4 separate regions of the Homo sapiens genome follow, and regions 1, 2 and 3 are each linked to region 4. Evidence: promoter capture Hi-C in 16 types of primary human blood cells and fetal thymus (Javierre and others, 2016). All regions are on one chromosome and are shown on one strand. Each heading gives the region's core, a stretch centred on a gene start or on the middle of the fragment in contact. The rest is flanking DNA. Distances are from core to core; before and after follow the strand shown. Region 1 overlaps MIGA1 (mitoguardin 1). Region 2 has its middle 8.8 kb from the start of DNAJB4. Region 3 overlaps FUBP1 (far upstream element binding protein 1). Region 4 holds the start of ACADM (acyl-CoA dehydrogenase medium chain).

Region 1 (6,810 bases), core at 2,700-5,199, 2.1 Mb before region 4:
AGATGTGAAAGACTTCTACAATTTAAAAATATATATATATACACGTTGCTGAAAGAAATTAAAGAAAACATGAATAAACAGAAACACATCCCATGTTCATAGATTAGAAGACTTAACATTGTTAAGATGTCAATACTACCCAAAGCAATCTACAGATTCAATGCAGTCTCTATCAAAATCCCAATGATTTTTTGGCAGAAATAGAAAAACCCATCCTAAATGTCATACGGAATCTCAAGGGACTTAGAATAGCCAAAATAAACTTGAAAAAGAAGAACAAAGCTGGAGGACTCACATTTCCTAATTTCAAAACTCACTATAAAGCGACAGTAATCAAAACAGTAAGGTACTGGCATCAAGGGCACAGAAATAAAACCTCACATATATCATCAAATGATTTTCCACAGGGGTGCAAGACCATTCAGTCGGAAATGGAGAGTTTTTTCAACAAATGGTATAGGGAAAACTGGACCCTTACCTAATAATACATACAAAAATTAACTCAAAATGGATCAAAGACCTAAATATAAGTCCTAAAACCCTAAGAAGCTTCACAACATCGGATTTGGCAATGACTTCTTAAATATGACAATGAAGACACAGGCAACAAAAAAAAGATACAAACAAGACTTGATGAAAATTTTAAAATTTTGTGCATCAAAAGACACCATCAACAGAATAAAAAAGTAATTCACAGGGTTGGGCACCGTGGTTCATGCCTGTAATCCCAGCACTTTGGAGGCCAAGGTGGGTGGATCGCTTAAGGTCAGGAGTTCGAGACCAGCCTAGCCAACATAGTGAAACCCCGTCTCTACTAAAAATACAAAAATTAGGCCAGGTACACTGGCTCATGCCTATAATCCCAGCACTTTGGGAGGCCAAGGCAGGCGGATCACTTGACGTCAGGAGTTCAAGACCAGCCTGGCCAACATGGTGAAACCCCATCTCTATTAAAAATACAAAAATTAGCCAGGCATGCTGGCACATGCCTATAATCCCAGCTACTTGGGAAGCTGAGGCAGAAGAATTGCTTGAACCCAGGAGGCGGAGGTTGCAGTGAGCGGAGGTTGCAGTGAGCCGAGATTGCGCCATTGCACTCTAACCTGGGTGAAGAAGCGAGACTCTGTCTAAAAAAAAGAAAAAATACAAAAATTAGCCAGGTGTGGTGGCAGGCACCTGTAATACCAGCTACTCGGGAGGCTGAGGCAGGAGAATTGCTTGAACCCAGGAGGCAGAGGTTGCAGTGAGCCAAGACTGCACCACTACACTCCAGCTTGGGTGACAGAGTGAGACTCCATCTCAAAAAAAAAAAAAAAGAAAAGAAAAGTAATTCACAGAATTGGAGAAATATATGGAAATCATATAACTAACAAGGAATTAATATCCAGACTATACAGAGAACTAAAACTCCACGAGAACAAAACAATTTCAAAAATGGGCAAAGGGGCCAGGCACAAGTGGCTCACACCTGTAATCCCAACACTTTGGGAGGCGGAGGCGGGCAGATCACCTGAGGTCAGGAGTTCCAGACGAGCCTGGCCAGCATGGCAAAACCCTGACTCTATTAAAAATACAAAAATTAGCCAGGTATGGTGGCAGGCGCCTGTAATCTCAGCTACTCAGGAGGCTAAGGCAGGGAGAATTGCTTGAACCCAGGAGGCCGAGGCTGCAGTGAGCAGTGAGATTGCACCACTGCATTCCAGCCCATGCAACAGAGTGAGATTCTGTCTTACAAAAAAAAAAAAAAAGGGCAAAGGACTAAAATATACATTTCTTCAAAGGATACATATAAATGGTCAATAAGCACATGAGAAGATGCTCAACATCATCAGGGAAATACAAATCAAAACCAGAAGGATATACTACCTTTGATATGGTTTGGCTGTGTCCCCACCCAAATCTCATCTTGAATTCCCATGTGTTGTGAGAGGGACCCAGTGGCAGGTAATTGAATCATGGGGACAAGTCCTTCCCTTGCTGTTCTCATGACAGCGCATAAGTCTCACGAGATCTGATGGTTTGATAAGGGGAAACCCATTTCATTTGGCTCTCACTCTCTCTTGCGGCTGCCATGTGAGACGTGCCTTTCACCTTCCGCCATGATTGTGAGGCCTCCCCAGCTACATGGAACTGTAAGTCCAATAAAGCTTTCTTTTGTAAATTGCCCAGTCTCAGGTATGTCTTTATCAGCAGCATGAAAATGGACTAATACAGTAAATTGGTACCAGTAGAGTGGGGTGCTGCTGAAAAGATACCCAAAAATGTGGATGTGACTTTGGAACGGGATAACAGGCAGAGGTTCAAATAGTTTGGAGGGCTCAGAAGAAGAGAGGAAAATGTGGGAAAGTTTGGAACTTCCTAGAGTCTTGTTGAATGGCTTTGCTCAAAATGCTGATAGTGATATGAATAATAAAGTGAGGCTGAGGTGGTCTCAGATGGAGATGAGGAACTCATTGGGAACTGGCACAAAGGTGACTCTTACTATATTTTAGCAAAGAGACTGGTGGCATTTTGCCCCTGACCTAGAAATCTGTGAAACATTGAACTTGAGAGAGATGATTTAGGGTATCTAGCAGAAGAAACCTCTAAGCAGCAAAGCATTCAAGAGGTGACTTGGGTGCTGTTAAAGGCATTCAGTTTTATAAGGGATGCAGAGCACAAAAGTTTGGAAAATTTGCAACCTGACAATGCCATAGAAAAGAAAATTCCATTTTCTGAGAAGTTCAAGCAGGCTGCAGAAATTTGCATAAGTAAAGAGAAGCCAAATGTTAATCCCCAAGATAATGGGGAAAATGTCTCCAGGGCATGTCAGAGGTCTTCACGGCAGCCCCTCCCATCACCAGCCAGGAGGCCTAGGAGGAAAAAGTGGTTTCAGGGGCCAGGCCCAGTGTCCCCGTGCTGTGTGCAGCCTAGGGACTTGGTGCCCTGCATCCCAGCCACTCTAGCCATGGTTGAAAGGGGCCACCATAGAGCTTGGGCTGTGGCTTCAGAGGGTGCAAGCCACAAGCCTTAGCAACTTCCACATGGTGTTGAGGCTGCCAGTGCACAGAAATCAAGAATTGGAGTTTGGGAACCTCCACCTAGATTTCAGAAGATGTATGGAAATGCCTGGATGCCCAGGCAGAAGTTTGCTGCAGGGGTGGGCCCTCATGGAGAACCTCTGCTAGGGCAGTACAGAAGGGAAACATGGAGTCGGAGGCCCCACACAGAGTCCCTACTGGGGCACCGCCTAGTGCAGCTGTGAGAAGAGGGCCACCGTCCTCCAGACCCCAGAATGATAGATCCACCAACAGCTTGCACCATACACCTGGGAAAGCCACAGACATTCAATGCCAGCCCATAAAAGCAGCCGGGAGGGAGGCTGTACCCTGCAAAGCCACAAGGGCAGAGCTACCTACGACCATGGGAACCCACCTCTTGCATCAGCATGACCTGGATGTGAGACATGGAGTCAAAAGAGATCATTTTGGAACTTTAATATTTGACTGCCCTGGCCGGGTGCAGTGGCTCACACCTGTAATCCCAGTACTTTGGGAGGCCAAGGCAGGCAGATCACCTGAGGTCAGCAGTTCAAGACCAGCCTGACCAACATGGAGAAACCCCATCTCTACTAAAAATACAAAACTAGCCAGGCGTGGTGGCACATGTCTGTAATCCCAGCTACTCAGGAGGCTGAGGCAGGAGAATCGCTTGAACTCGGGAGGCAGAGGTTGCGGTGAGCCAAGATTGTACCATTGCACTTCAGCCTGGGCAACAAGAGCCAAACTCCCTCTCAAAAAAAAAAAAAAATTTTTGACTGCCCTGCTGGATTTCAAACTTGCATGGGGCCTGTAGCTCCTTTGTTTTGGCCAATTTTTCCCATTCGGAATAGCCATATTTACCCAATGCCCATACCCCCATTCTATCTAGGAAGTAACTAATTTGCTTTTGATTTTACAGGCTTATAGGTGGAAGGGACTTGCCTTGTCTCAGATGAGACTTTGGACTGTGGACTTTTGAGTTAATGCTGAAATGAGTCAAGACTTTGAGGGACTGTTGGGAAGGCATGATTGCTTCTGAAATGTGAGGACATGAGATTTGGGAGGGGCCAGGAGCAGAATGATATGGTTTGGCTGTGTCCCCACCCAAATCTCATCTTGAATTCCCACGTGTTGTGGGAGGGACCCAATGGTAGGTAACTGAATCATGGGGACAAGTCCTTCCCTTGCTGTTCTCATGATAATGAGTAAGTGTCACAATATCTGACAGTTTCAAAAATGGGAGTTTTTTTGCACAAGCTCTTGTCTGCCGCCATATGAGATGTGATTTTCACCTTCCACCATGATTGTGAGACCTCCCCAGCCATGTGGAACTGTGAGTCCAATAAACGTCTTTCTTTTGTAAATTGCCCAGTCTTGGGTATATCTTTATCAGCAGCATGAAAACGGACTAATATAACCTCATACCTATTAGGATGGCTACTATCAATGAAATAGAAAATAACAAGCATTGATGAGGATGTGGAAAAACTGTGCACTATGTGGAAAAACTGTGCACTATTGGTAGAAACGTAAAGTGGTACAGCTACTGTGAAAAACAGTATGGCAGTTCCTCAAAAAATTAAAAATAGGGCTGGGTGAACCAGCTGACACCTATAATCCCAGTACTTTAGGAGGTCAAAGTGAGAGGATGATTTGAGGCCAGGAGTTCAAGACCAGCCTGGTCAACATGCTGAGACTCTGTCTCTTCAAAAAATTTAAAAACTGGTGGAGAGATGGTGGCACATGCCTGTAGTCCCAGCTACTTGAGAGGCTGAAGTGGGAGGATTGCTTGACCCCAGGAGTTTGAGGCTGCAGTGAGCTATGATCTTGCCACTGTACTCCAAAGCAAGACCCTGCCTCTAAAAAATAATAATAAATAAATAAATACATAAATAAATAAATTTAATTAAAAGTAGAATTACTGTATGATCCAGCAATTTCACTTGACACAAAATAATTAAAAGCAGGATCTCAAAGAGATATTTGTATGTCCATGTTTATAGCAGCATTATTCACAATAGCAAAAACATGGACGCAATCCAATGTCCATCAACAAACACACACATAAGCAAAATGTAGTATATCCACACAACGAAATATTATTCTACCTTAAAAAGAAAGGAAATGCTGACATATGCTACAACATGGATGAACCTTGAGGACATTATGCTAAGTAAAGTGAGCTAGTCACAAAAAAATTCTGTAGGGTTCTACTTGTGAGGTACCTGGTCGAATTCATACAGACAGGAAACAGAATGGTGGTGGGGAATGACGGGAAGGAGGTACAGTAAGATGTTGATAAACAGTTGTAGAGTTTGAGTTTTGCAAGATGAAAAAAATTCTGGATATTGTTTGTACAACAATGTGAATGTACTTAAGGCTAATGAACTATACACTTAAAAATGATCAAAATGGTCAATTTTATGTTATTTGTACCTTACCACAATAAAATTTAAAGGATTGTTAATAGTGAGAACAGGCCTACTGGAATAACATAATTCACTGAAAGTAATAATAATGGACTATGTAAGTTTGCTTAAGACAGAAAAAAATTTTTAAGTAACATAACCTTTTTTTAAGAGTTACAATAACCAAAACCAAAAACAAAAACCCGTGAAATAACCAAGTAGGTTTTTTAACTACTGTAATAAATATTTTGACTGTACTATATAGAAACCTCAAATAAAACTGAAATAATGTAAACAAAATATGCTCTGAGCAATAAGCTTAATATTCAACTTCCTGTTTGCTTCTTTTATTTACCTGGGAGAGAGAATAGTACCAAGTCAGAGGAAGATCAAACACTCTTAGCGCTGCTGTCTTCAAGGAAAACTGTGATTCACTTACTGTTTCTTCTGACATGGCTCCTCTTCTAATCTTCATTAAATGAAACATAAAAAAAATTAGCCACAAAGATTTCTGGTTACTTTACCAATGAAAGGTACAAACTGAAAATTTAATTCTATCAGCTTATTTTTGCAGTCAATTATTGATGACATTACACTTGAGCTAAAATTATATTTATTAATCACCAAACGCGTAAAAGAAACAATAAGCTATCCTTCCTGTAGGAGATAGCATAAAAAATAAGAAGTTAAAAAAAAAAAAAAGCTAGATTTAAACTTTGAGTCCGGGTAGCAAATTTTCCTTAGGAAATTGCGAGTTCTAGATTCTCTCTTTTCTGGTTACATAAAAATTTAACACTTTTTAGGGAGTAATTTAAAATTTACTTCTCATTCATTTGGTTTCCTTCATATAACTGCGGGGGTGAGAGTAGGTGGCAGGCAGGTTGCTGAATGGAATCTGGAACAGAATCTTGGGGCTAGAACCTCAGAGTTCACTGACTGAACTCCAGAACTCACGCATTTATTCTCCTATTGTCTCATTTTAAAGATCTTCAAAGAAATGCCACATATATGCTATATGATTTTGGTATAGTTTTAATGCGTATTATTTCTCTTAAACAAAAAAAGAAAAGTCAGATGAGTACAGAGAAGCAGTTGACACACAAAGAGAGGTCATTAAGGCAGTGGTTCAGGGTCTGGGTCTCTGCTTTATAGAGCCAGAAACGTAATTTTACCACTGTACCCAGTTGAACACATGTTAAACAAATTTACATGGTATTGATGCATAAATCACTTTACAAGTTTATCTATTTATAATAAAGAAATAAACGATCTAGTGTACATATTCTATCAAAACATACCATCCCTGAAATAAAAGACCATAGGAAGCTGAACTAATAAGTCAAAAATGTTGCCTGATGAGTGCAAAAATCAAGAGTCCTGAG
Region 2 (6,905 bases), core at 3,394-5,893, 2.3 Mb before region 4:
TCTCCTTTGACTCAGGAAGTTTTACTTGGCATAAAGCATTAAAGTAACTACCAGATTCACCCCCAAAGGAGTCTGGCATCCCCCAAGATCTTGCCTCTTGCCAAGTTCCCTTTTCAGACCTTTATCTCTGAATTTTACTATCTTCTCAGTGTTAAAAAAAAAAAAAACCTGTTCTATGCCTTCCCCATAATAACATTTATATAATACTTTACAGTTTATAAAATACTTCCATATGCTTTCTCACATACATCTGATACTCAAGTGATAAGATTTCAAAGAGCTTTTCTATAGCTACAGTCTAATAATGAGCTAAGATATTCTTGACAATTCTTAAACATACACTGTTCCAATATTTACATAAAACTAGAGGGTACTAGGCTGTGTCTATCCTAATGTTTCACCTGTTTTTAAGATAATATCTAAATAGTTATATAAAATCAAATTATTGGCCATTTAATAACGGACTATATCTTACCTCTACATACTATAATTTCCTAAAAAACCAGTAAGCACTAAGAGGTATCATTACCATAGATTGCTATAGAGCAAATGCTTGATGTAAGTTTGCAACTCAGACCCTCAATTCTCATTCCTGTGAAAAGGTTCCAGAGCATAATACTTACAGTACCTTTTAATTTTGTGATGGCTACAAATGCAACTTTGTCTTTAGGGGAAAAATAGGGAAATTTTTATTTATTGTGTATGTGTTGCCAAGATACAGACCCATAAAATCTATTTATTTATTTATTTATTTAGAGACAGGATCTCACTCTGTTGCCCAGGCTGATTGTGTTCCTGATCTCACAATCTCAGCTCACTGCAGCCTCGACCTCCTGAGCTCAAGCCATTTTCCCACCTCAGCCCCCAGAGTAGCTAGGACCACAGGCATGCCACCATGCCTGGCTAATTTTTCTATTTTTAGTACAGATGAGGTTTCGCCATGTTGCCCAGGCTGGTCTAGAACTCCTGGGCTTAAGCGATCCACCCATTTTGGTCTCCCAAAGTGCTGAGATTACAGGTCTGAGCCACCGCACTCAGCTGAGAAATTTTAAAGAGATTCACTTCTTACCTTATCTACGTTACAAGCTGAAATACATAAACTTAAGGCAAGTGTCTTTAAGACATTAAGCCCTATCCATTTAAGCTTAAATTGTTTTAGAAATCCTACTCTCCCACGCCCCTTACCTGTAAATGTCCTTTTTTAGGCAATGACAGTAGTTTGGATTCATTATATTTGGAATTTGTCAACAGTATCTGACTGTCCATTTTATAGTATTTGATGGGTACACAAACTGTTTAAAAAGGTGGTTATCATAGTGCACATTTTCCACAAATAAAGTATTTCAATCACTCAGCAAATATTTATGGAGTGTTTATTTTGTGTCACACACTATTTTAGGTGCTGTTAACTAGATAGACATTATCCTTGCTCTCATTCAACTCATTCTAGAGGGGGAAGACAAACAATAAAAAGTTAATAACGAAATGAGATCGTTTTAAGAGCTTTAAAGATAGTCAAACAGAGGCCGGTGCGGTGGCTCACGCCTGTAATCCCAGCACTTTGGGAAGCTAAGGACTGCAGATCACTTGAGGCCAGGAGTTCAAGACCAGCCAACACGGTAAAACCCCGTGAAAATACAAAATTAGCTGGGCATGGTGGCGTGCACCTGTGGTCTCAGCTACTCAGGAGGCTGAGGTGAAAGGATCATTTGGGCCTGGGAGGTGGAGGTTGCAGTGGGCCAAGATCATGCCACTATACTCCAAACTGGGTGACAGAGGGAGACTGTCTCAAAAAGAAAAGAAGAAAAAAAAAGTTAATTATTATCCTCAACTTGGGCTGGAGTGGTGGGGATAGGAAAGACTTCAGAACAGAAAATTGTGAGCAAAGTCATGAAAGACTGATAGATTTTGACAGAGAAAGGGAGAATTTGCAATTTGGATCAGGAACACTAAGTCAAGAAGCAAAAGAGCATAAAATGTATTTGATACAGCAAAAATACTGGTGAGATTAATGCATGCAAATTAGGAAGGCTTGCCCTGGGAAGCTGGCAGAAAATAAGTTACGGTCAGATTGTTCGAAGTTTTTTTTATGGAGACAGGGTTTTACTGTCACCGAGGCTGGAGTGCAGTGGCATTGTCACAGATCGCTGCAGCCATGATCTCTCCTGGGCTCAGCCTCCCAAGTAACTGGTATTACAGGCTCACACCACCACCACATCTTGCTAATATATATATAGATATATAGATATAGATATAGATATAGATTTTTTTTTTTTTTTTTTTGTAGAGACAGGTTCTCACTATGTCTCCCAGGCTGGTCTCAAACTCCTGGGCTCAAGCAATCCTCCCGTCTCAACCTCCCAGTGTTGGGATTACAGGCATGTGCAACTGCACCCAGCTGAAAGTTTTTAATGTCACACTTGATGACTGCTCTTTTATGCTCTTCAAAAAGCACTAATTCAATAGTTTGGTCTTTGAAAAAAAATTACTTGAAGAGGTTGCTTCATTTCTTAAGTGTCCATTTATTCCCAAACCAGTGAAATTACTTTTCTGGTTGTCAGTAAGGTAAAGGGTTCTTAACAAAGTTTCATTAATAATCTGTAAGCTTCCTGGCCAGGCGCTGTGGCTCACGCCTGTGGTTCTGGCTACTCTAGAGGATCACTTGAGACCAGGAGCTCAAGGTTGCAGTGAGCCGTGATCGCAGTCCACCCGGGTGACAGAGGGAGATCCTGTCTCAAATAATAATAATTTGTAAGCCTCCAAGAGCACCAACATAAGATGGCAAACTAACTTAAAATGGTTGGTAGGAAGAATAATTTTAGTCATAATTCTCTGTGGACTATTGTCTGTATCATCAAAATTTCCATTTTATCGCTACAGTAATATTAGTAATTCCCCAAGTTTTCAAATGTTGATACTGTGTCATGGCTTGGTTTTATAATACTTTCCCCGAAGCACTATAATATATACATTTAATTTTTTTGTCTAGTGGTCTTTAAAACAAGATTTTAAATTGTTTAAAAAATTAAAAAGTACCTACCTTTCAAAAAACAAGAAAATAAAATTGCTTTAAATGTATAGAAATTACTAGATTTGGAGACACCCAGGGGATCAGACATATTTTATACTTAAAAAAATAAATCAGCCAGGTGCAGTAGCTTACACCTGTAATCCCAGCACTTTAGAAGCACGAGGTGAGAGGATCACTTGAGCCCAGGAGTTTGAGACTAGCCTGGGTAACAAAGTGAGAATTCCATCCCTACAAAAAATTTACAAATCAGCCAGGCATGGTGGCATGTGCCTGTAGTCCCAGCTACTCAGGAGGCTCAGGCAGGGGGATGGCTTGGGTCCAGGAGGTCAAGGCTGCAGGTGAGCCGTGATCATGCCACTGTATTCAAACCTGAGTGACACAATAAGACCCTGTATCCAAAAAATATATATATCATTTCCTTTTTTGGGGAGTATAGAACTAACTTATTCTAACTGGGATGAATAAAATATTCAAGCAACAACTAGCCCTTCTTTGTTACCCTCTTTTACAATAAGTCCTTGAAAGCTTGCTAATGACTAGTGAATGTATGGCGAGCTAATATACTTTTCTGGCATTTTGAAATAATTTAAAGAGTTCTTTTTTTGTTTTGTTTTGTTTTTTGAGACAGAATCTCACTCTGTTGCCCAGGCTGGAGTGCAATGGCACAGTCTGGGCTCACTGTAACCTCCGCCTCCCGGGTTCAAGTGATTCTCCTATTTCAGCCTCCCAAGTAGCTGGGACTACAGGCATGTGCCACCACACCCAGCTAATTTAAAATAAAGTGTTCTTTACACTGATTTTAAACACTGAGTTAGGCCCAGGGTGATAGCTCACACTTGTAATCCCAGTACTTTAGGAAGCCAAGGCAAAAGGATCACTTGAGTCTAGGAGTTCAAGACCAGCTGAGCAACATAGTGAGACCTCGTATCTACAAAAAATAAAACAGATTAGCCAGATGTAGTGGCATGCACCTGTAGTCCTAGCTACTTGGGAGGCTGAGGCAGGAGGATCACTTGAGCCCAGGGAGATGAGGCTGCAATAAGCCATGATCACGACACCACTGCACTTCAAGCCTGGGCAACAGAGCAAGACTGTCTCAAAACCAAAAACACTGTATTAGCCAAAAAATTTTAAAAAGAGCTAGAGTTTCTACATCATTTTAAATGGGTCTTGATAAACTAATATTTCATTATAACATTTTGCCTGTGTTGAAAGATCACACTATTTAGACCAGTGCTGTCCAACAGAAATATAAAGCAAGCTACAAATGCAAGCCACATTTCCAGAAACCATATTTTTTTAAAGTAAAAACAAACGTGAAATTAATTTTAATAATGTATTTTATTTAACCTAGTAAATCCAAAATATTATCATTGCAGCATATAATCAAAATACAAATTATCAATGAAATACTTTACATTCTTTATTTTTTGTACTAAATATTTGAAATACAGCATGTATTTTACACTTTGACCTCAATTCAGATAGGTACATTTCAGTAGCTTAAGAGTCTCATGTGGCTAGTGGCTACTGTGTTGGACAGTGCAGATCTAGTGGTTCCTTCTAGTCGGCAGTACTATAATCCAATTTTTCAGAAATCTCAGCCTGTGAATCTCAGCCCAAGTATACCACACATACATACCTCTCACATGCACATTTAGGGTAAATAAAGTCTTAACAGGTGAACTCTATTTTACTTATAAAATAGTACTACATTGTTCATCCATATAAACAATATGATAATTTTTTTCAAAATAATACTTTACACTTAAGGTAGTAGGAATGTATTTACACATGCTCAGTTGACATACACTTTCACAATGTTTAATTGTAAAAGCAACACTTGGAAATGAGGAATCTACGTGATTTTCACTTTTATCTTTTCTAAAATGTCTCTTCTCATACTCTTTTCTTATATGTGGCCTGAGATGTCATCTTAATTGGCTCATTAGAAAAATGAGAGTAGTTAAAAAAAAAAAAAAAGAGAGAGAGTAGTTTAAGGAGTACACAGAAAAAAAATGTCTGTAGCCCAAGAGGAGGAGAGGATATGCAGCTGTTTCATTGAATTATTAGGCTCTTAGCCAAGACTGCAACAAACTGATTATTTAGCAAGTTTGTTTAGCTAATTGTTTACAATTCTCAAATAATTTTTTTCTTTTTTTTTTTTTTTTGAGACAGTCTTGCTCTGTCACCCAGGCTAGAGTGCAGTGGTTTCATTATGGCTCACTGCAGTCTCAGCCTCCGGGGCTCAAGTAGTCCTCCCAACTCAGCCTCCCAAATAGCTGGGACTACAGGCATGTGCCACCATGTCTAGCTATTTTTTCTTTTGTAGAGATAGGGTCTCCCTATTTTGCTTAGGCTAGTCTTGAACTCCTGGGCTCAAGCTATCTTCCCACCTCCGCCTCCCAAAGTGCTAGGATTACAGGTGTGAGCCATTGTGCCTGGCCTCTCAAATGATTTAATTTAAATCAGTACCAAACTTTAACTATGAATTAACTTTATCGTATACTGCATCCATTAAAACATAATCACGAAACCACTGCTACCATGGAGACTTAACTATGATTCGAAGACTTTAATAATGGCTACCAAATATAAGTATTAGAACATTTATATAAATAAGCCCGTATGTCCTATAGTATTTACCAACTACTATAAAATTCAGCCATTGACTACCTAATTCCAAATGCATAAGCTTGAACTATTATAATTGTCTAAAGAAGGATATTTAGAGAAAAATATATCTCTAAAATAAATTAACTGTAAATGGATGGGTTTTAATGTTCAAGTTATTAATATTTCAAAAATATAAACTTTTTGTTATCTAGGTCAAATCAGCATATCAAGCCAACCATTACTGAGACCCCACTGTGCTATACTGTTACATGTAACATGAAGGATAAAACAGTATAATACATAGTCCCTACCCTTAAGGAGTTTATACTATAAATAAGTCAGGCACGGTGGCTCATGCCTATATCCCAGCACCTTAGAAGGCCAAGGAGGGCGGATCAATTGAGGTCAGGAGTTCGAGACCAGCCTGGCCAACGTGGTGAAACCCTATCTCTACTAAAAATACAAAAAAATTAGCCAGATGTGGTGGCACACACTTGTAGTCCCAGCTACTTGGGAGGCTGAGGCAGGAGAATTGTTTAAACCCGGGAGGTGGAGGTTCAGTGAGCCAAGATTGTTCCACTGCACTCCAGCCTGGGTGACAGAGCGAGACTCGATCTCAAAAAAGAAAAAAAATAAAAGAAAAAGGAGTTTATACTATAACTATATAAAGTAATACCTAATGTCTATTGTTGCTTTTGCCAGACAGCGGTAGAGTTGAGTAGCTGCAGCAGAGACTGTATGGCCCACAAGGCCTAAAATAGTTACCGTCTGGCCCTTACCAGGAAATGTTTGCCAACTTCTGCTTTATACAAATTATTCTTCGCTGGAGGGAGAGCAAAGTCTAAATAAAGCACTAAACATGATAAAATTTTATTGCATCTGGCAAACTTTAAAAACTATAGTTTTTACAATAAACACTCAGAAATAGGCCGGGCGCGGTGGCTCAAGCCTATAATCCTAGCACTTTGGGAGGCTGAGGCGGACAGATCACCTCAGGTCAGGAGTTCGAGACCAGCCTGGCCAACATGGTTAAACCCTGTCTCTACTAAAAATACAAAAATTAGCCAGGTGTGGTAGCACATGCCTGTAATTCCAGCTACTCGGGAGGCTGAAGCAGGATAATCGCTTGAACCCGGGAGGCAGAGGTTGTAGTGACTGAGATCGCACCATTGCATTCCAGCCTGGGCAACAGAGACTCTGTCTCAAAAAAAAAGAATAAAGGTCAACCTGTTTTTGCTTGTCTGATGGTAAAATAAAA
Region 3 (6,510 bases), core at 1,894-4,393, 2.2 Mb before region 4:
TAATCATTTAAGTTTGAAGGGGGGAGGAGAATGTAGTACTTTGAGCTATAGGTTGTCTGTTCCAAGGTATGCATTGTATTCATCTGTGTAATGGATTTAGGTGAAGGTAGTCATGTAGTTGCTTTGAGATTTTATTTTTTTGCTAAAGTTTTATGCAGTGAAATGTTTGTTTATAAATAATAGAACAGTTTAGGTTGAGATTGCCTTGTAATGTTGTGGGGGGTTTTTTTGTTTTTTTTTTTTTGGGCATAGCTTTGTGGTCACTGTCAGATACACTTTAATATGTCAGATTTTTGTAGTTTGATAGGCTTTTCTCCCCCCAGTCTTCAGTTCCTGAGGTGGAAGCATCATTAGCCTTTAGCATGTGATATTTTGCTAGTAATGGACCTAAAGTACGTTGTCTTGTGTCATTCTAATGTGCTTAACATACATTAAGGTCAGTGATTTCTTAAGAATCAGATAACTATTTTAATGTCTGTGCATCTTTTGAACGTGAAGAGAATGAAGTATCGTTTCTTTTTTAGATTACTGAGTTGGGGTTGAATTTTGGCAGTTTTGGTTCAAATGATAAACCATACCTTCAGATATTTCAATAAATGTTTATATTGTTATTTATTCTTGTTTGGGAGGGGAGAAGCTTTGTACTTAATTGGCAAAAAATTAAAAGACACTTAATTTTGCAGATCAACCAGATGCTAAGAAAGTTGCTCCTCAAAATGACTGTAAGTATTCCTTTTAAACTGGGTCAAAAGCTAAAGTAACAATTTCAATGTTAAGATTTTGTTCATATTATTGGGTATCTTTGAAGTTAGTTGGTTTATGAGTATTTTGGATCAGCTAGCCTGAATTTCTTTGTAAATATATACCTTTTTCTCCTATTTTACAATCTGTCCCATTAATTGTGGCCGGGTATATGTAAAGATTGGTTGCTGAATTATTTTACATATTTAACAACTCCAATTCTTGATCTATACTTGTACAACTTGAAAAAGGAAATTATTTTGTTCTGTGCCATTGCTAATATAATGTCTTCCCTTTCATTGGCTCTCTTGCCCCTGTCAATGCCAATATAAATATTGTGTAAAAAATTTGACTCTCTTCAAGGTGTTGTCTGTGCATTAGGGAGAGATTTTTGAATGTTTGATGTGATTGTGTTGTTAAATATATAAGTAAATTTAAATTTTGAATTTTTGTTTTATTTTTATTTAATTTTTTGATAGCTTTTGGAACACAGTTACCACCGATGCATCAGCAGCAAAGGTATAGTCACAAGATTTTCAAAAAGTACTCTGCAAGTTTTGGTTGAGCTGTATGTAAAAACACAACCACATTGGTGTATATTGAATATGTGTCTGTGTATTTTTTGGTGTACCTAGTTCATATCACTCCCCTTGGGAAGGTACCATAAAGTGATGATTTTTCTTTTGAGTGAGAAAAATTTGTGATTTGGAGAGATAGGTGGAATTAACCACATTTTAGAAGAACAGGGGTGAATTAGAGTAACTGTTAAGATGACATTCTCTAAACTCCACTTCAACTTCTTTACAGTTAATGCCTTCAGACTGTTCCATTCATCATCCCTTCTTCACTTGATGTGTCATCTTAAATTTCTTAATTTAACTACTCAAGTAATAAGATCATATTTTTTGACATGAGTCTGAGCCTAGAACCTTAGTTTAAGCCATTGGGAGACATTAGACTTCCATTTTTATTAATAGATTATCTTTTATTTGTAAACAAAGTATCTTTCATTGAAGGAAAATGGTGCTTTCTGTTATTTCTTAGCAGATCTGTAATGACAGAAGAATACAAAGTTCCAGATGGAATGGTTGGATTCAGTAAGTAACTTGATTTTTAAAGTTTTGAAAACATGATCAAAACATACTTTAGAATCTTTCAACCAAAAAAAAAATTTTTTTTTTTCTAACTAGTAATTGGCAGAGGAGGTGAACAGATCTCACGCATACAACAGGAATCTGGATGCAAAATACAGATAGCTCCTGGTAATGTTACATTCTCATGGTATTTTCAGTGTGACTAGAAAACTAGCTTTTTTTTTTTTTTAAGCCTTCTAGTAACAATAATGCTACTTTTAATCTTTTGACCTGAAGTTATCTGTTTGTTTTAAATTGTAGACAGTGGTGGCCTTCCAGAAAGGTCCTGTATGTTAACTGGAACACCTGAATCTGTCCAGTAAGTTTGAAAAATCTTAAAAATCTACTTAAGTAACAACAGCAGAACTCTTTGAATTTTGTCTCTTCTCTTTGTTACTGCTTTATTTTACACTGTGGTTTCGCTGCCACCTTCCCTCAAAGTCCTCCAACTCCTTTGAAGTTTATGCCTCATGCCTTTCTCAGGTGGGGTTCATCATCTGAATCATTAAACACAGAAAATGGTTAAAACAACTCCATATCTACTCCAGTCTCTACTTGTAAAGCCACGTGTAGCCTGGAGAAGAATGCACAGTCAGGTCGACTGGTGACACTTAAAACTCAGACATTAAGCTCAAGTGGACTGTTGTGTTGCCTGCATTTCCCTAGTTCCATTCACTTTTCCACTCCTCTCCCAGGCTCTTTAATACTGTATTTCCCCACCTCCAAATCTTCAGCATCTAACCCCACGCTCTCCCACTTAAGCTTATTTACTGAGAAAATGGAAGCAAATGATAAGAAGCTTTTCTTTTTCCCTACCACTAAACCTACCAGCCTTCATTTTTCCTCTGTTCACATAGTACTCAGGTAATTGCTTTCCTTTTGTGTTCGAGTGCCTAAAGCCAGCCCTTTCTTCCTACTGAAGGTTCAGCTTGCAGTTGTACTTTCTTCTGCATTGTTAGTTCTCCCTCATTACTAGGTTTTTTCTTTTCTTTTTTTTGAGACGAAGTCTCGCTCTGTTGCCAGGCTGGAGTGCAGGGGCACGATCTCGGCTCACTGCAACCTCCGCCTCCCGAGTAGCTGGGACTACCGGTGCATGCCACCACACCCAGCTAATTTTTGTATTTTTTTAGTAGAGACAGGGTTTCACCATGTTGGCCGGGATGGTCTCAATCTCTTGACCTCGTGATCCACCCACCTCGGCCTCCCAAAGTCCTGGGATTACAGGCGTGAGCCACTTCCCCCAGCCTGATTTTCTTTATGGCACTTTCCAAATAATGTGTTATTCATTTGACATGTTATTTTTACTTATTTAATGAAATGAAGCCACTCTAGCAGGAACCCTGTTTCTTTGAGTGCTATTACCCCATTACCTAGAATAGCACCTGCACATAGTTGATATTTAAATATTTGTTGAATGAATAATTGTAGCATATGAGTAAGCAAAATGGTAGTTTAAAAATGTAAATAAATCATTTAGTTCTTGGAAGAATCAGTTTAATTCTGAGATAACTTTAGCATTAGAGTTCTTTCTTGGAAATTTTGGACTATTCTTAAAAATAAAAATTGTATATCTAGAAAATTTTTTTGCATAATCTCTCAATCTTTGACCCTTGATGGCATTTTCTTTCAGTTAAAAGTAAAAGCATTGTTAAAGTTAGCATCAAGGCACCTAATCCTGAACTGGGATAGGAGGAGTACTTGGTTATATTGTTTTATATTTCTCTATTTGAATAAGCTTGGGTATGCTACAGCTTACTATTTAAATATTAATTTGTTAACAGGTCAGCAAAACGGTTACTGGACCAGATTGTTGAAAAAGGAAGACCAGCTCCTGGCTTCCATCATGGCGATGGACCGGGAAATGCAGTTCAAGAAATCATGATTCCAGCTAGCAAGGCAGGATTAGTCATTGGAAAAGGGGGAGAAACTATTAAACAGCTTCAGGTATTGTTATTTTTGTGAAATGGCTACTTTTGATCTGTTTTGATGCCCATTTTTGTCCACTTCCTTTTGTTAATATATATTATTTCTATGATTGTAACAGGAACGGGCTGGAGTTAAAATGGTTATGATTCAAGACGGGCCGCAGAACACTGGTGCTGACAAACCTCTTAGGATTACAGGAGACCCATATAAAGTTCAAGTAAACTTAACTTTATACTTTATAAAGAAAGAGTGGGTTGAATGGGGTTGGGCAAAATATGCATGAATAATTAAAATGTTTTGAGACATGCTTTCTAAATTAGCTAACTTTTTCTGCTTTAGCAAGCCAAGGAAATGGTGTTAGAGTTAATTCGTGATCAAGGCGGTTTCAGAGAAGTTCGGAATGAGTATGGGTCAAGAATAGGAGGAAATGAAGGGATAGATGTAAGTAAAAATACCCATTCAGAAATGGTTGTATGCTAATTCATAAATATAATAGTGTTTTCTGTTTTGTGTTAAGTAGCTCTAACATTGTTATCCTTTTATTTCACCTTTATACTTTAGAATACAGAATTCTATATATCTTGTTACCCTATTTACTATAAATATAGAATTATATGTACTTTTATGATTTGAGGCAGATTTTCAGGAAATGGCGCTTTTTTAAAATACTTTTTTTTACTTTAAACCCTGAGAAGCTAGCTTTCTTAATACTTAGTCTTTTTTACATAAGGTCCCCATTCCAAGATTTGCTGTTGGCATTGTAATAGGAAGAAATGGAGAGATGATCAAAAAAATACAAAATGATGCTGGTGTTCGCATTCAGTTTAAGCCAGGTGAGTACATATAATAATCTTGTAAGTGTTGGCAGCAGTGAGTTTTGACATACATTTATTGTTTAATTAATTTTGTTTCTTTGTTTTGAAGATGATGGGACAACACCCGAAAGGATAGCACAAATAACAGGACCTCCAGACCGATGTCAACATGCTGCAGAAATTATTACAGACCTTCTTCGAAGTGTTCAGGTTTGATAGAAAGTTAACATTTTCATTTTTTGTTTTTATGGAAAAGTATTTTCCTTCATGAAATCTGAAGTTACCTCTATATCAGAGTCTGCTTGATGATGCTTTATTAATGGAGAAAGTTTAAATTGCTTTAAGGTAAAGATCTTGGAGCAGGAAGAACTACTACCTTAAGTGCTACCTTATTTACTCTTGTATTTTAAAAAATGTTATTACTTATTAGGGCCAGTTCATCTCTACATTTCTGATTCAGGTATATGAGAGCTGGGAAAAATAAACTTAATAATTTTATCATGAAACAAAAGTATTTCTGTGCTGACTCTTCGTTCTTGTCTTTCCCTCTCTATAGGCTGGTAATCCTGGTGGACCTGGACCTGGTGGTCGAGGAAGAGGTAGAGGTCAAGGCAACTGGAACATGGGACCACCTGGTGGACTACAGGAATTTAATTTTATTGTGCCAACTGGGAAAACTGGATTAATAATAGGAAAAGGCAATGTATTTTAAACTCTTAATGTTTTAACACATTATTCATTTTTCTGGACACTTTCTGTTGCTGTCGTAAACAAGTGGCAATGCTTTTTCTCTGACCGTATTTTAGTAGAAAAGAATTCTTATGTTAATATGTAACAAGTAAAACATAAATGAGGGATCTCATGTATATTTAGAGAAAGAGCAGGATTTTAATCTTACTAGCTTCTAGAGAAAGCGAACTAAGAGATAATTATTAGCATAAGAAATGTCTTTTGACCCAAAAAGTGGTTTGAGTGTTTTTGTTTGTGCATTTTGGTTTTTCCCGACTCATATTTTAAAAATTTGAATGTTTATAAGTGTATTAGTTTATATTTACACTGCTTTTAAAAGCAGTTAATTCAAATATTTTATTATAATCACATTAAGTTTATGTTTAAACATACTAAGTAAATGTAAATGTATTTTAAGAGAAGCATGAAATGCTTCCTAAAATTTGATTTTCAGTGTAGAATATTAAATGAAAAATCTTAATACAATATTGTCAATTAGGATACTGACCAAACCATATTTTTAATGGCCCATTTAATTGTGACCATTTTCTTCTAAATAGCTCCTAGTACACCCTTGAAACCTTTAGAGAAATTACTGTCTTTTGATTTTAGGAGGTGAAACCATAAAAAGCATAAGCCAGCAGTCTGGTGCAAGAATAGAACTTCAGAGAAATCCTCCACCAAATGCAGATCCTAATATGAAGTTATTTACAATTCGTGGCACTCCACAACAGATAGACTATGCTCGGCAACTCATAGAAGAAAAGATTGGTGTGAGTATACTTTAAACTTTTAATTTTTAGTGTAGACCCTTAGACTGTAGTTAAATTAAGACGTTTATTCAAATACATCAAAGGAAAATGTATCATTACTAGTCAGCATTTATAGATTTCATGATATGTATAATAGATACAACGTGAAGATTTTCCAGCAATGAAAATAACCTAATTAAATGTGTAGTTACAGGTTTTGAGAACAACCTTACATTTGGGTGTGGCTAGATAAGAGGAGGGTAGTGTTACCTGTAGGCATGATATTAGTGTTGGTGTAGGATTGTGGAACATACTTGAAGGACATAGTTAACGGGAATTCATTATTTATTAAGATTTTACTCTACTGAACCCCAGCGAGGCAAACAAGATAAATCAGATACATCTGCCACTCTA
Region 4 (6,698 bases), core at 1,249-3,748:
CTTTCCAAATAACATACCTCATACTACAGTAATAAAAACATACAGAGTATGAAAACTCGCATTTTCTTTGCATCTTCATTAATTTTATTTTGAAAGTGAAACAGTGCCAGGTGGGGTGGCTCATGCGTGTAATCCCAGCACTTTGGGAGGCTGAGGTGGGCGGATCACGAGGTCAGGGGTTTGAGACCAGCCTGACCAACATGGTGAAACCCCATTTCTACTAAAAATACAAAAATTAGCCAGGTGTGGTGGCACGCACCTGTAGTCCCAGCTACTCGGGACGCTGAGGCAGGAGAATCGCTTGAACCCGGAAGGCGGAGGTTGCAGTGAGCCTAGACTGCACCATTGCATTCCAGCCTGGGTGACAGAGCAAGACTCCGTCTCAAAAAAAAAAAAAAAAAAAAAAGTGAAACAGTTTCTCTGGTGCTTATTGTCCAGCAGTCACAGACCAAATCTACTCTGATTTACAGTCGCGTTACACAGGTTAATTCACTGAATCCCAGGTCAAGTCTAGGATTAAGCCATTACTTTTATTCCACTTTCGCATGTGAAGAAACGAAGGCTCAGAAAGTCAACTAAATTAGGCAAAGTCACTCTACTATTAGTGCAACCAGGATTCTAACATTTACTATCAAGAGCGCATGCTATTAACCACCTTGCTATACTGATCTTTCTGTTAGTATCCTAATTGGTCACTAGGTTCCATAACAAAGGAAAACATTCCACAAAAATCAGAACAAAAAACCTGACTCTATTATAAATGCGTTTTTAAATACCATGCACAAAAGTCAGAACTCAAACCAGGTTAAATGGTCTACTGAGGGACTTTTTTTTTTTTTTGACAGAGTCTCCCTCTGTCACCCAGGCTAGAGTGCGGTGGAGAGATCTCCGCTCACTGCAGACTCAGCCTCCTGGGATTACAGGCATATGCTACCATGCCCAGCTAATTTTTCCTATTTTTAGTAAAGACAGGGTTTCCCTGCTTTGGCCAGGCTGGTCTCGAACTCCTGGCCTTAAGTGATCAACCCGCCGAGGCCTCCCAAGGTGCTAGGATCACAACCGTGAGCCGCCGCACCTGGCCAACCGAGGGAATTTAAATAGGGAAAAAGTCACTTCACATGTGACTGTTCAGGAAAATATGTTACATAGAACAAAGTGCAAAGGTTGCTATTACCAGAATACAATGCCCATCAACCTGTTAATTACATAACAAAGTTAGCCAGTTAATTAGAGAGGTGGTTTGCAAATAGAAAACAGAAACAGCACGGGATCTGGAGTTATAATTGCTGAATGTGAATCTAGGTTCCACAACCATATTTGTGGCCGTAGACAGGTTTACAAACTGCTTATAGCTTCCGTTCAAAACCAAAAAATGGGACTAATCTCACTGCGTATTTTCGGACGATTAAAGTACGATAATGTTTTGAAAGCCTAATGCTATATAACTATTGGTTTTATTACTTCGGGCTCTCTGTCTAGAACAATGAAATTCCAAATATCGAAACAGCACCACTAGAATTGAACACTTTTGTGCATTTCTTGGGAATATAAGAGTGTCAGTTTTATGGGTTAAAGAAGAGAAAAAGGGTGTAAGTTTTCTATATCAGGTTTTTTTTAGATCCTTCCTTGGAGGTTGAGAAATCTGCTTTTCTGGTGTAGGAGTTAAAAATAGCTGAAATCTCCCAATTTCTGCCTTCACTGCACATTAACTTGCATAACACCAGCAAAACATGGGCAGCAATTCTTTAGGATTATTCTAAAACCGCAGCTTTTTTGGTCCAAGACATAACTTTAACTTAATTTTAAGTGACATCTAAATGGCAGTGGTGTGAACATATCAAGAATATTTAAGATACCAAAATTCATCTAGTGACAAACTTATTTAGAATCTATTAAGATCCAATACTAGAATATACACACAAGTTCACATAAAATTCTGCAGGTTTTTTTTTTACTTTTTTTTTTCCCGTAAGCAACGTGGAAACGTTACAACGAAAAGCTTATTAAACATTAAGTATTTCAAGGAGTAGCTGCTCCATTTTTCTTTTTCCCGTGGTTCTGACACAGAGACGGGGTCACTTTGGAAAAAGGTGGGATTCCCGCGGTAAATATTTGGAGGGTTTACCAGAGAAAGAAAAACGATATTCTAAAGAGAGGATGCCGGCTATAACGGGGTCGCCTGACGGGAGGATACGGAAAATGAAACGCTAGGCTACGTTCCGTCCGGTGGTAGGAGGCGTGAAAGCAGGTTGGGGGCCCCTAGGCTGGCTCCTTCCTCAGCCCGACTTCCCACTCCTCCCGGCCGCACCTATTTTTGGCCCAGGGCCCCCTGCTCCGACACCACAATACCCATGTTCCAGCCCCACCGCACCGCTGGGCTCCCTCTCACCCTGCAGCATCGCCCGAACCCCGCTGCCATGTTGGCTCCCGTTCCGGCCACTCGGACAATAATACACGGGTCACGGCCTTGACATACTCCCCGAACGCGGGACTCCTCTGGTCCCGCCCACTGGAGCCCGTGGGCGGGATGGGGCGGGGCGGGAAGAGGCGGTTGGGCTGCGGAAGGACGGGGCGCTGCGCTAGGCGGGGTGGCAGCGGTCCCCGGCGCCGGGTAGCCAACGCATGCTCCGTGACCCTTGCGTGCGCCGTCGCTGCGACCTGGGGAGGGGTCGCATCCCCTCTCCGGGCAATCTCTGATAGTCCTGGTTTGGTTTTCTGCGTTTCCACCTCTGGCCCTCTCTGTGGGACGCCGAGGCTGACCGCAGCGCGGAAAGAGAGCCAGGGCGGGGGAGGGGGACGGCGGCGGGGCTGGGAGGGCCCGGTTGCGCTGAACGGTGGGGGGACTTGCGGCGCGGTGCAGGACGGGAACCTGGGTTAGAGGGCGTGGCTGGGGCCTGGAGGGAGAGCGGCCCCCGTGGTCAGCCTTCACCTTTACCCGGAGAGAACGGTCAAACCCAGATCGTGTCTGCTTGGCGGATTCAAAGTATTAGTACATTTTGCTCTCAAATGCCCTACCTAAAGCGAAAGCATACTTGTGTTTCCTTAAAATTTAAAAGAGAATTTAATTGTTTAGGTAAATTTGACCTTTCCGCGTATTCCCAAGGCTGTTTATGACTTGTCCGCTGATGTGGTGTCCTTGGATATGCGGGTGCAATCCGAGGCTGTCCAAAGCTCCTGGTTCAGCGAATGATGGAAGTGAATGTCTCCCTGAGGAATTCTACCTGGAGTCACTTTCTCTTCCAGTGAGACCCTGAGTTTTGAGATGGTAGCTTATACTAAATCTTATACTAACTTAACATTTTCTTTTGCCCAATAAAGGTCACCCATAAATTCATCTAATTTAGCTGTTAAAATTCTATATCCTGTTATTGTATTCCCCTACTTTGTCTTCTGGGAATTTATAGTGTGTTAGTCCTAGGTACAAGGCAGAATGTTAATTAAGCGCTATATTCAAAGTGAAAGTACCAGGAAAATTCGGAAAAGGGATAAAGAGCTGAGTTTGTCCTGGTATAGGCAAGAAAGCCTTCAAAGTGGTGGTGGTAAGTAAAACACAAAGCGGACTCTTAAAGATGATTAGGAATTGTCTATTCATGTCTCCTTTGTTCCAATTTCTTATTCTGAACATTTTAAACACAGAAAAGATGAACGAAAAGCACAAAATCACCCATATGCCTATTGTAACCCCTTCTTACTGTACACGTGGCTGGCAGAGAAGCGAAGATGGAGCCCTCATCTTAAACATGTCTAGTCGGTAGTTCCTGCCACCATTCACCCAAGCAAGCTACCCCCTTGTTTGTCTGTGCCTGCAGCTCGACTTCACAGGCTGCTCTTAGAAAAGGATTTGGGGCTGCTTTTCATTAAAAAGAAAAGCCTTACTGATGTTGGGAACGGGCGCTCAGTGTTGCAAAAATCAACACTGAGACAAAGGAGCTCTTAGCAAGGCTAGTTTACTTTCTGCAGAAAGGTTGCCGCTCGCTAGTAGTCTTGCCACGAGAGCACACACGCATAAAGGAGACAGGGTCATTTATAACCTGACACGTGCACCCTACTACCGTGTCCGGTTTCCATTGGCTGGAAGGGGACCTCTGTACTTGTCCTGATTGGCTAGCAACTTAGAACTTTCCAAAAGAGGCAAAGACAGAGGAGAACAAAGGAAGGAGGAAGCAACTTGTGGAATGCTGAGAAAGGTAAAAACACCTCCAGATAAGGAAGAAAACAGGCTATGGCCTAATGCTTCCTTGGACCAGTATAAGCATGCCAGGGCAAATATCTAGGCTAAAATGTGGCAGCTAAGAGCACAAAGTACATTGATTTCTTTATTACGGCCAACAGATATCAAAGAATGTTAGTGTGGCCAACTGCCACGGTTACTACTTGAGACCATCGTTACAGCAGTTACTACTGTTACTGCTTGAGACCATCATTGTGAGATCAAATGAAGGGACGAACGTAGAAATGATAACTTAAGACAAAAGGAACTGTTTTAAGGAAAGGGCCAGGGGAAGAAGAAGAGAGCTCCCTGCTTCTCGTGAGCAAAGGCAGCCACAGAGCTTCCACAGCCCTTCCTATTTTTTGGGTAACAGGAGCAGGGAGGAGGTGGTAACGATTGGTCAGCTGCTTAATTGATCACAGGTTCATATTGTTACTGACAGGCTTCAATTATGCCTAATCATAAGAAACATTTGTGCCTAGATCGTAACTACCCTCAGCAGTCCTCCTGGGTGGCATACGCAGTTTGTCAGTTCGCCAACGTTCTGCATTTATGAGAAACAGTTTGCTGCTTACTCATATAGCCTCCAGTGATATACTGAGTTGATCACGAACCTCATTGTTTCGGCCTCCAATATGTTAGCACAGTTCTTTGAATAAATTTTGCTTTTAAGAGAAGTTACTGTTTATTCCTAATTAGACGGAAAGGAAAGTCCATTTGAAGAGGAACCTCTACTTCACTTTTTACACTGAGGACTCCCATACTCGTACTATCGGCCTGAGTAATTTCTTCTCAATATCATTATCACCTAGATTCAAATATTTTTCCATATTTATTTATATATTTATATGTGTACCTATGTGTGTGTGTTTTGGTTGTTGGTTTTATTTTTCTCAGATCTGTAGGTTGTAGATAAGACACTTCAGTTCAGAATACTTTAGCTATATGTCTCCTACAAGGACATTTTCCTATATAACCATTTCCTATAAAACCTTTATCACATCAATGAAAATTAACAATTATTCGCTACTATTATTTAAGGTCCAGAGAATATTTACATTTCTCCAGTTGTCCAGTTGTCTCCAGAATACCTTTTGTAAATAGTTTGTTTTTGAACCAGGATCCTATGAATGATTGCCCATTGAAGTTGGGCTTTAACTTTCTTTGGCTTCTTTTAATCTAAAGCTTTTAATCTAATTCATTTTTCCCAATAATAACTGTCTTTTTAAACAAATTTAAGATACCAAGCAGTTGTCATGAAGAATGCCCTAATGCTGGATTGTCCGATTTTATTTATTTTGTACCTCTAGATTTTGTATTTCCTATCAGTTGCAAGTTACCAGAGGCTTGAGGAGTTCAGATTAAACATTGGATAAGGATACTTCAAAGGTCATACTGTGTAGTTAATATTGTATTACATTAGGAGGCATTTAATATCAGATTTGTCCCACTATTGGTGATGGTGTAAGCCAGCAGTGTCCAATCTTTTGGCTTCCCTGGGCCACACTGGAAGAAAAAGAATTGTCTTGGGCTATACATAAAATACACTAACACTAATGTTAACTGATAAGCTACAAACCAAAACAAAAACGCAAGAAAATTTCATAACGTTTTAAGAAAGCTTACAAATTTATGTTGGGCTGCATGCAAAGCTGTCCTGAGCTGCATGTGGCCTGTGGGTTGCATGTGGTCTGTGGGCAGCAGGTTGGACAAGCTTGCTGTAAACCAAAAACAAAATTCTAAATTCCCCCCAACTATCTGAATGGACTTTCTCGTAGGCTAGGGCACTCTAAAATTTAAATTTAACCTGAAAGACTACTTCAGGCCATGATGGGAAGTGGGGGTTGGACATGCCTCTTTATACCTCAGTGATGTTAACATCAACACAGACCTTAAGTCTGATAAGAAACATTTACAATCTCTTCTCTCTGAAGGAGAGAGATAACAGAATGCTTTTCTGTTCTCACCTGAAGGCTTCCTTTGCACAATAAGAACTTTGGTCTCCACAATCCTTTAATCTTAACCCAGACATTTCCTTTCTGTTGGTTCCAGGTCTTTAGATAAACTTAACCAAGTGTCAGCCAGAAAATGTTTAAATCTGCCTATAACCTGGAACCTCCCCCCGCCTACCCCCCCAGCTCCACCCCTGCTTCAAGTTGTCCTGTCTTTCTGAACTGAACCAATGTATTTCTTAAATGTATTTGATTGAAGTCTCATATTTCCCTAAAATATATAAAACCAACCTGCACCCCAACCACCCTGAGCACATGTTCTCAGGATCTCCCAAGGACTGTGTCGTGGGCCATGATCACTCATATTTGGCTCGGAATAAATCTCTTCAAATATTTTACAAAGTTTGACTCTTTGTTGACAATGCTATTTGATCATTTGATTATTGACAGACAGTTCTTTCTATGGTAAAGTTATAGTTTTCCCTTTGCAATTAGGAAGTAATTTATAGGGTAATATTTGGCATCATGCCAAACAA

Evidence for each region. Contacts are between HindIII fragments. The CHiCAGO score rates a contact against its expected background, and 5 or more counts as called.
Region 1: a contact is called between a fragment that was not itself captured here and the fragment with the promoter of ACADM in region 4, in 3 of 17 cell types (non-activated CD4 T cells, total CD4 T cells and activated CD4 T cells). The highest score is 7.6, in non-activated CD4 T cells.
Region 2: a fragment that was not itself captured here is called in contact with the fragment with the promoter of ACADM in region 4 in 1 of 17 cell types (fetal thymus); the score reaches 9.9 in fetal thymus.
Region 3: a fragment that was not itself captured here is called in contact with the fragment with the promoter of ACADM in region 4 in 2 of 17 cell types (fetal thymus and non-activated CD4 T cells); the score reaches 7.5 in fetal thymus.

Annotation. Positions count from the first base shown.
Region 1 is chr1:77,782,325-77,789,134 of GRCh38, reverse strand. MIGA1 (mitoguardin 1) reads right to left here. Exons shown (of 16, transcript NM_001416120.1): 2 at 5,784-5,897. The coding sequence starts at 5,882. Among named protein-coding and RNA genes, the nearest start is that of MIGA1, 6.1 kb to the right of the region's middle. The HindIII fragment of the contact is 3,599 bases long and covers 2,150-5,748 here.
Region 2 is chr1:77,992,693-77,999,597 of GRCh38, reverse strand. It overlaps a transcript of DNAJB4 not described here. Among named protein-coding and RNA genes, the nearest start is that of DNAJB4, 8.8 kb to the left of the region's middle. The HindIII fragment of the contact is 2,170 bases long and covers 3,559-5,728 here.
Region 3 is chr1:77,962,377-77,968,886 of GRCh38, reverse strand. It overlaps FUBP1 (far upstream element binding protein 1), which reads left to right. Exons shown (of 20, transcript NM_003902.5): 3 at 684-722; 4 at 1,221-1,260; 5 at 1,786-1,838; 6 at 1,932-2,003; 7 at 2,136-2,193; 8 at 3,656-3,818; 9 at 3,919-4,017; 10 at 4,140-4,241; 11 at 4,531-4,633; 12 at 4,725-4,825; 13 at 5,172-5,313; 14 at 5,957-6,117. Among named protein-coding and RNA genes, the nearest start is that of FUBP1, 13 kb to the left of the region's middle. RefSeq lists a silencer at 3,069-3,271. The HindIII fragment of the contact is 936 bases long and covers 2,676-3,611 here.
Region 4 is chr1:75,720,509-75,727,206 of GRCh38, reverse strand. ACADM (acyl-CoA dehydrogenase medium chain) reads right to left here and starts at 2,498. Exons shown (of 12, transcript NM_000016.6): 1 at 2,390-2,498. The coding sequence starts at 2,419. It also overlaps a transcript of SLC44A5 not described here. RefSeq lists enhancers at 2,283-2,372, 3,023-3,112 and silencers at 2,503-2,552, 2,603-2,652. The HindIII fragment of the contact is 3,396 bases long and covers 2,002-5,397 here.